Linked DNA regions of Homo sapiens: region 2 is linked to region 1. Evidence: promoter capture Hi-C in 16 types of primary human blood cells and fetal thymus (Javierre and others, 2016). All regions are on one chromosome and are shown on one strand. The core of a region is centred on a gene start or on the middle of the fragment in contact, and the rest is flanking DNA. Distances in the headings are between cores, read along the strand shown. Region 1 holds the start of PYROXD2 (pyridine nucleotide-disulphide oxidoreductase domain 2). Region 2 overlaps CNNM1 (cyclin and CBS domain divalent metal cation transport mediator 1).

What was found. The method cuts DNA at HindIII sites, captures the fragments that hold promoters and counts their contacts. A CHiCAGO score of 5 or more calls a contact.
Region 2: a contact is called between a fragment that was not itself captured here and the fragment with the promoter of PYROXD2 in region 1, in 2 of 17 cell types (M0 macrophages and M1 macrophages). The highest score is 5.5, in M0 macrophages.

What each region holds. Positions count from the first base shown.
Region 1 is chr10:98,411,816-98,416,567 of GRCh38, forward strand. PYROXD2 (pyridine nucleotide-disulphide oxidoreductase domain 2) reads right to left here and starts at 3,367. Exons shown (of 16, transcript NM_032709.3): 1 at 3,194-3,367. The coding sequence starts at 3,320. It overlaps HPS1 (HPS1 biogenesis of lysosomal organelles complex 3 subunit 1), which reads right to left. Exons shown (of 20, transcript NM_000195.5): 20 at 4,383-4,752. The HindIII fragment of the contact is 3,850 bases long and covers 1,173-4,752 here.
Region 2 is chr10:99,357,429-99,361,902 of GRCh38, forward strand. It overlaps CNNM1 (cyclin and CBS domain divalent metal cation transport mediator 1), which reads left to right. Exons shown (of 11, transcript NM_020348.3): 2 at 84-227; 3 at 3,407-3,547. Among named protein-coding and RNA genes, the nearest start is that of CNNM1, 30 kb to the left of the region's middle. RefSeq lists enhancers at 534-1,201, 1,202-1,868. The HindIII fragment of the contact is 1,648 bases long and covers 907-2,554 here.

The sequences.
Region 1 (4,752 bases), core at 2,117-4,616:
CATATGAGAAGCATGTGAGAAGCTAGTTGGTTACAGTTCATCTTAAAAAGTGCTGGTTGACATACTCTTTATTTGTATGGGCTTTTGAAAATGTTCATAAGAAAGTTTAAACAATCCGCCAGTGGGACTCATGAACAGATGGAATCTGTCTCTCAAAGACATGCAGCAAACTAAAGGCAGACAGTCCTGGGCTCAGCCCAGCCTCTGCTATTTGCCAGGGCATGACCTCAGAGAGTCATCAGCTGCCCTGAGCCTTGAGTTTCTTCACATGGGGAACAGAGGGTGCCAGGGACCCTGCAGTGTGGCAAGGATGAGATAAATGGGAGCTATTTGTCTTTTAATTGGTGCTGATGATCGATCTTGGAAAACTCATAGTCTTCCAGGCAACTGGGTCCAGTTCAATCATGGCAGACCTCAAATGAGTAAGGTCAAGGATCCAAAGCACAAGACCCCCTCCCAGTGACCACCCTCAAGTCCTGGCTGAGCCCTCCTTGGCTTCTGGTGACACCTCTGTTCCCTTGAAGAGGACTTCAGCTGCGGGCTCTGCTAATCCCCAGACCTGCCTCAGGGGCCCCATAGCAGGCGCCTGGGCCCTTGAGGAGCTGCTCTGGGCGTGGGCTCTGCAGCTGCCTGCATCAGGCAGTGTTGGTTGGGTGGATGTGCTGACCTCTGGGAGACACCTCCCGCCCTCAGAATGCTCGTCACCAGGTATGGGGCCAGGAATCTCCATTTTAACAAGCCCCCTCAGTCACTCTCAGGCACATTTAGTCAAATGACTAAATGAGATTCATCTTCAAGGTGGCGGCCAGGTGCCAGTGTGCCTTCAGGGACTCAGAGGTAACCCTTGTCTCAGAAGATGCCGTTCTGTTCCTCACTGAGGCCCAAGATGCCTTTAAACCAGGCTTTATGGTATGTTTAGCAACTAAAGAAATCATGTCAAGGAAAAGCTCACACACTGAGACTCACTCGCACTTGTAGGCAAGTCACCAAGGCAGCTGGTGACCTAAAGTCAACCTTCCCCATTAGGAGACAGCAGGGTGAGCTGTGGCTGAGCACGGAAGGAGGCAGGGGGCTTCTCTGAGGCTAAGTGAGGTGCTGGAGATGGCTCCCACCAGCCCGGGGAGTTTGTGAGCCGGCTGTCAAACAGCCATTGATATAAACTAAATTATATAAGCTTACAATTAAATAAATTAAAAACAAAGGTAATAAATACTCAAAACACACTACCTCCTATTTGTTTTACTACATTTGACTGTTGCCCATGCCCTGGCAGTCACTGGCCTCTATGTACATATCTGCATGGTGGACACACTATACAATGATGTGCTACTGGGTATCTCTCCTAAATCACATTGAGCAACCTCATCTTGGTAACAGAAAAGGCTATGGTGGGAGTATTTACACCACTGTCATCAGCAAATATTACACAGAAGGGCTGAATTTATTTTTTGTGGTCAGGCTTAAGAAAGTGATGGGAAAATGCTAATAATGCAGATTAAACCTAACAGTGTTAGCTGTTATAGCATGAATAAATAGCACAAAAATTGAAGGAAATATTCTAGTATTAGAACAATATTATCTTATTTGAGTAACATCATTCCTGTCATTTAAAGAAGGAGGCCGGGCGCAGTGGCTCACACCTGTAATCCCAGCCCTTTGGGAGGCTGAGGCAGGTGGATCACAAGGCCAGGAGTTTGAGATCAGCCTCGCCAACATGGTGAAACCCCGTCTCTACTAAAAATACAAAAATTAGCCGGGCGTGGTGGTGGGCGCCTGTAGTCCCAGCTACTCGGGAGGCTGAGGCAAGAGAATCGCTTGAACCCAGGAGGCGGAGGTTGCAGTGAGCCGAGATTGCGCCGCTGCACTCCAGCCTGGGCAACAGAGCAAGACTCCATCTCAATAAATGAATAAATAAATAAAATAAAAATAAATTTTAAAAAATAAAGGAGTAAGGTTGGGACATAAATCTTTGTTGTTTCATTTGTTTCACGATCATCCTACTCTTTACAGAAAATATGGAGCACCGTTCTCTTTGGAGCTACCCTCATTTGTCATTTGCAACTATAGGTTGGCTACTGAGTTTGGCAAAAATCAAAGAAAGCCTTTGGTAAGAATCACTCGGGTAGACTGCATTTAAATTGAGAGTATTGTATCTTTATTTGTAAAATTGTGTGCAGTGTATCTTTTATTTCAATATTTAAAATAAGCATGTGTATATGTGTATATATATGTACGTAACACATATACATATATATACACATATATGTGTGTATATATACATATATATACATGTACACACACACATACATCACACATTTTTCCCTGGAGAGGTGAGTGTTGAGTATCTACCAGCTCGCAACTGCTCTAGTACATATGAAAATGAAGGCATGCCCTCAAAGCTGCATGTTGAGTGCCGTCTGCTTTCGGTCCCGTCATTATCTCTGTATAGACCCAGTTGGCAATCATGCATTTGGGGCCCTCTGCAAGTGTGAAAGGAAGGCACTAAGGAAAGACCACCTGGTCCTGGGCCTGCCTCTTCCCCTAGCACCCAGTAGACTGTGATACTCTGAGCCCAGGGGTTGGCAAAGTGTGGCAGATCACTGCAGATCCCCAAATGTCCCAGAGCTGCAAGGCAATGGGGTCCATCTCCCTCTGCAGACACGCAGTAGGAACTCTGGGACTCAGTTCTGTTTTATCCTAACTGGCCTTTATGAAATGACTGCAGTTTCTTGTGACGAGGGGTGGCCTCAGTGGTAAGGTAGTGGTGACCAGAACTCAGGGCACTGAGGGGGCGGGGTGCTGGATTTCACTTGTCTGTTGGCCCAGGGCTCTTTCCAACCCTTACAAACCATAGGCTGAGAATGTGGTGGAAACTAGGTCACTTTGCAAGAGATATAGGGAAACCCCTGAGCTCACCTAGTCTTCCTGTCATTCTCCATGGGAAGATCCAAGCCCAGAGAAGGCAAGCATTTGCCCCAGGCCACACAGCAGAGCCAGCACCGGAATCCCAGGTGCCTGCCTGCCAGATGGAAGGGCTTTCCATTGCAGCCCCTGCTAGCGTATAAACTTCTGGCTGGGTTATGCCAGAGGAGAGAGCAGTGGGGCTTGGCTCCCCCTCCCCCTCCCCACCAAGCTCTGAGCAGGGCTGTCTTCCCGCCCCTCAGCTCTGGCCCGGCCTGCTTTACCACTTTACCTGCTCCTATCACCACCGCATCATACTCAGGCTTCAGACCTCCCCTGGCTTCCGTGTTATCTCGTCTCCACGCCGGGAAGGGAGAGGCGGCCACAGCCTTGCAGAGACCTCGGCCACTTGCAGCCATTTCTGCCCCAGGCTGGGCCTTGCTAGGCAGGGAGTTTGCTAGCGATTGGCTTTTGTGCTGCCCTAGGCACGGGGTGGAGCAGGGAGGAAGCAGGAAGAGGAGGAGCTGCAGTCCCCCTCCAGGCCCCCTCCACCATGCATTCTTGGCCACAGGCCAGCCTCCTGCTGCCCTGGGGCTGTGCTGGGCCGTCGGGAGTGTTGCCTATTAACCAGGCGGTGTCACCTCCAGGATGCAGGGGATAATGGCAAAACTGACAATCCACTGGGGTTCCTATGTCAGGCTGGCATTGTGCTGAACCCTGTAGGCAAAACTCCCCATTTTACAGATGAGGGCGCTGAGGCTGCGGGGTTAGGGAATGAGTGGTGGAGGCAGAGTGGAGCTCGAAAGGGCCCTCTCCTCCCCTGTGCATCTACCTTCTCAGTCAGAACTGAAACGCCTGGGATGGCAAGTGCTCGTGTCAGACTCTGCTCCAACTCCATGCTGAGTCTGCCAGTGCAGAGTGGTGATGCCTCTACGCCCACAGGAGGCGCCCAGGGCGGCCATCTAGCGTCACCACGACCAGGGCCTTCAGACACCGCAGAGGCAGCTGTGTCTGTCGCTGAGGAGCACTGGAGTCCTCTCCTAAATGCTCAAACACAAACCCACAACGAGGGCTTAGGGGCAAGTTCGCTGTCTGTAATTCTCTGGTGTTTTAGTTTTGAAGGCCTGGCCAGTTCTCCTCTTTTGGCACCTTGCCCATTTTCCAAGAATCCCCAAGGATTCGAGGTCACATCTGTAAATACCTCCAGCTAAAGTTCTTTCTGACCCTCCCTTAGGCCTGCCTTGAATTAGGAGCCCCTTTGTTCTCTGCCCATTACTTAGCAGAGTGTTCCCCTAGGAGGAAAAAACCCCTTGGAGCGGAGAGTTCCTGCACTGCTCTGATATCGCAGTGTGACGGAAACCTGCTATTGGTAACGAATCTCAGAACTGGGAGAGTATGTGGAGATGATCCTAAGAGGGGGTTCCGAGGACCCCTCCACACACCATGGACAGTTACCCCGCATGTGAGCATCTCTGCTAAGATCTGATTCAGGATGTTCACTCCTGTGTTATTTATTATATAGAAAGATCAAGGGGACTGGTTAAACTAGACATATCACATCCAGCCGCTGCTAAAAACTAAAGGGAAATAGTAGGTGACAAAAGCAGGGGTCCTGAACAGTGGTGGGCTCAGGGGATTGGAGTTTTTTCCTTTATGTTTTTCTGTATTTTCCACAATCCACGCTTTTCATTGCCATTCCATCAGATGATGTTAAGGAGGAACACAGATCCAGTCACCTGAGGGGATACTTCCTCACTGCCACCTTCTCAGGGTTTAGACCAACATGTGGGTTCTAGTTCCCCCAGCCCCAAAGCTGTTCCCTGCAAGGAAGAGATCAGTCTTTGAGCAAAT
Region 2 (4,474 bases), core at 481-2,980, 940 kb after region 1:
AGCAACTTTGTATCATTTTTCTCACAAAAAAAGATCTCTGAAAATGTCCCCGATACTTAACTGTGATTTCATTTGTTCTCTAGGAAAATCTCACCTGGCCATTGTCCAGCGGGTGAATAATGAGGGAGAAGGGGACCCTTTCTATGAGGTGATGGGCATTGTCACGCTGGAGGATATCATAGAGGAGATTATCAAGTCGGAGATCCTGGATGAAACTGATCTCTACAGTAAGTGCACGGCCTTGGCTGTTCTCCAGGGTCATCTTATTTTCCTCCAAGACTCTCAGGTAAAGCCTCATTTGATTTATAGAAAGGGTGTCAGGGCAAACCCTGTGCCCTGATGTGTGTCAGCCACCTATGCCAGGTGCTGCTGTGGCAAGATACCCTAGTTGGAATCACTTCTGAGTCACTGGGAACATGCTAGCTAAGTGTTTATCAGGAGGGAACCTTCAGGAACTGAGCCAAGACTATGAAAAGGAGACCTCCCAGCCTTTGGATAGAAACGGGACTACAGGAAACACAGTGTTCCCAGGACGGTGCCCAGAGGCCTCTCTGCCCTTGTTTCTGTCCCCTGTGTTCTTGTTTGGTTGCTTCATCCACCTAGATGCAGACCCCAACAGGGGTTCCACTCACATCAGAACATCGCAGTGAGCAGTGGAGACTGTCATGAGATTGCCTACTCACAGCCTAAGCCAAAAACTGAATACTCCTTCTTACAAACTTCCCTGTCCTCTTCTGCCTTTCAGCCCACCACCCTGGGTTTCTGTTCTCTCCCTGCCACCAGCATCCCTGCTCTTGTCTCTGCTTCCTTCTTTCTGGTCTGCTGCCCCTCCTAACTCCCTCACTCAGGAACAATACAGACTTTTCTATGCAGATGTGAGTACTTTGGGTTACTGAACCTTATCAAAGCTTTGCTTGCAAACATTACAAAGGCATGCTTTGTCTTTAGGATTGGAATGTTATCTAAGTCCATGGGAGTCCCTAGGCTGGGAAGTGTTTCCTCCTGAGAATTTCATCTCATGGAATAGCCATCCTTTTCTTCCTTGCAGATAACTCGTTTCAGACTTTGGTCCTTAGTTTGTGAGATGCGGCCTTTCAGAAACTGGCTCCTGGTAGAAAGAGCTTTGATACCATAAGGCAGTGAGCAGTGCAGAAAGAGTGCCTTCCTTTTAGACAAAGAAGAGATCAACTCTAAAAGGTGGGCCAGGCCTTGGCAAAGACAAGCAAGAGAGTCATGGCACCTCCCTCCAAGAGCCTGGGCACTGCTGTGCTTGCCCGGACCAGGCGTGTCTTCCTCACATGAGGAACGAGCTCGGAAATGTCCTCTCCCTCCCCCACCTCTGCCTGCCACTCTTGATTTAGAATTCTCAGGTGTAGCCTGGGCAACATGGTGAAACCCCATCTCTACAAAAAATACAACAGTTAGCCAGGCGTGGTGACGTGTGCCTGTAGTCCCAGCTACTTGAGAGGCCAAGGTGGGAGGATCACTTGAGCCTGGGAGGTCCTGGCTGCAGTGAGTGGAGATTGTGCCACAGCACTCCAGCATGGGAGCCTGGGTGACAGGGCAAGACTGTCTCAAAAAAAAAAAAAAAAAAAAAAAAAAAAAAAAAATCCCAGGTGTCTCAGATAAACTAGTGAAGCCATTCACACTAAGGTGTTAGGTACTGATAATAGTCTAAATGAGTAAGCTCCTCCCAGGGCACTTGTTTGAACAACCTTAAGGCTTCCAACACACACTATTGAAATCTAAGGAGAAGGGGGCGATGAGAGGAATGATTTCCTAATAATGCCATGTTAAGTGGCAATCTGATGGGGGAGAGGGGGGCTATTTAGGCAAACTTATCATACAAATCAGAAAGTTGCTCACTAGTGAGAGCGAAAGAGCTGGGCTAATAGCCTGTATTTTGCTACTCTTTTGCTGAGTGATCCTCTTTCTACAGGAGCAGGTTAGGGTCTTTCTACCTATAAATAGCTGCTGGCATGATTCCCTAAGAGCTATGAAAAGGCCCAGAAGCCAGGGATACTGTCTTTCTTCTTGCATGACCCTGACCTCTTACGTGATCTGGACACCTGGGTCTGGGTCTGCCCATTGTGACTTGAGCAAAAGGAGTGTCAAAGCAGGGGCCAGATGACTGTGAAGGCCCAGAGTCAGAGCGGGCCATGGAAGAGCTGCACCGGCAGGAGGGCACTTTGACCCTTCTAGAAGGAAACCCAAAAGCAGGCCCCAAAAGGAGAGGGGGCACACCAGGGAGCCGGATTCTGGGGCCTTATTTTCCTGCCACAGGGGTTCATTCCCTTTCATTCTCACTGCATCCACTCAGCTTGCACCAGACGTTCCCCCACAGCCCTGTTTCTCTTTAGGCGAAGTTTGGAGAAAACCCAAATCCCTCTCCCTGTTCCCCTTAGTGCAGGTAAGATGGGCTAGCAGTTTCAAAATTTTACTCAAAACTCAGGGAAAGCAAAAGAGAAAGAACCAAAGAAAACATTTCCTCTACCAAAAAAAAAAAAACAAAAAAAAAAGCGGGGGCCGGGGGGGAAGTAGATATATTTAGACAAGCTTTAAAAAGAATGAGAACAAATTAAATTGGAAAAAGCAAATGTTTTCAACCAATAATTACATGCCTGATACATAGGCTCTTGGGAGGTACCAGACCCTGCCTGAGGCCCCCATCCAGAAAACCCACCTTTAGAGATTATAGGTCCAATCTTATTTCTTCTCCTCTCTTCTTCCCTATATTTCCCCTGATTCCCTCCCAGTGGAGGGACTGGGGTTGAAGCAGGGAAATTGTGAAATAAGAGGTGGTGGCCGCCCTCCTTCCTTGTGTGGCATGCTTCAGGTACCACTCAGAGCATGGTTCACATAAGCAGCAGGAGACTAGGTGAGGCCAGTTCAGGGCAAAGGAGGGGGACAGAGTCAGAAATTCCCTGGGCCCCTGCAACCCTCTTGATACTAAGAATGCAGGTCCCTTGTGTGTGTATGACTTTGGGTAAAAGCATTCTCACAGGTAGTTTCCAGTTGGAGTCTCATAATTAATTGCACAAGATGAGTATGAGAGCTATATTAAATATTATTAGCCTCCTTGTACAGATTAAAATAAAAACTCTAATGCTTAGAGAGATTACATGGTAAGTAGGGGAACCAGCCCCAGAACCCCAGACTTGGGTACCCCAAGCCTGCTTTCCCCTTTTTCTACTATACACCCCCTAAGTGTGGAAAACACTGAAATGATGGCAGTCTCCCATTGTCTATCCCTCACCAACATCCTTCTACTTCCTGGGTGATATTGTGATGTCACCCATAGTTGACACTGCAGAAATGTTCTATCTGTCCCCTGTGATTCTGGGAAAACCTCCAAAGATCAACGTGATTCTGAGATAGCTGTAATCTGTCCTCTGTGACCCCACAGCTGACAATCGGAAAAAGCAGAGGGTCCCGCAACGGGAGCGGAAGCGGCATGACTTCTCCTTGTTTAAGCTTTCGGACACGGAGATGCGGGTGAAGATCTCACCACAGCTTCTGCTAGCCACACACCGCTTCATGGCCACAGGTAGGACAAGTCTCCACTCCAGAGAAGCTAAAACAGAATCTCTAGGGTGGGACCCAGGCACCAATCGTTGTTAATACCTTCCAGCCTGATTCCAGTGTGCTGTCAGGACTGAGAAGCACTGTTCTAGGAAGGAGGTTGCCTTAGACAGGGTAATGGATGCCACCTACTGTCGTATTGAGCCCCAGGCCTGATCTCATAGAGGAAGAAATGAGTATAACTCAACTCTTCTACCAGAGAAAAGAGCTAAAGAAACCATTGCTGCACTTTTCCCTCTTCTACTCACTTCCTCGCTGAAGCCCGAGGCCATCTCCCTGTCTGTTAGACTTGCAGTGCCCTAGAGCAGTGCCACAGAAGCCTGTGAGCTATGAATTTTTAAAATACAGAAGTGTATTGTGAATCTTGGGATCTTTAGAAAGAAAAAAAAGTGAGAAAATCCAAAGATAAACTCCTTCTTGTGAAGAAGATAAAGTTTGTCTTTGAACCCTCTGACCATCCATGCCTAATTAATGTGCTGACCTAGAATGATCATATCTATCACTAACTTCAATATTTAATTAATCCAACATATATTTATTGAGTATGTAATGAGTGCTAGCACTGTTTTAGGTGCTAAAGAGTAGAAAATTTTAAGTTGGAGCTGCTTTAAGATAGAATTTCTAGTTCTGAGTACAGATTTCTTTTAACTACTTCCCAGAGCCTATGTTATATAAGTAATATAAGTTTAACATATGTAATATAAGCAATAGCTGTAATATATAAATATGATGCAATGATGCCTCACATTATTGACAACTTATTATTTAAATAATTGCCTGTCTTTAGTAACATGGGATTTCATTTCATTCAGCAGATATATGTCATACAAATAAGCCAGATTAAATTATCTGCATTTCATTCAATTATAGCATTAAAGTCTTTGTTGTTTAT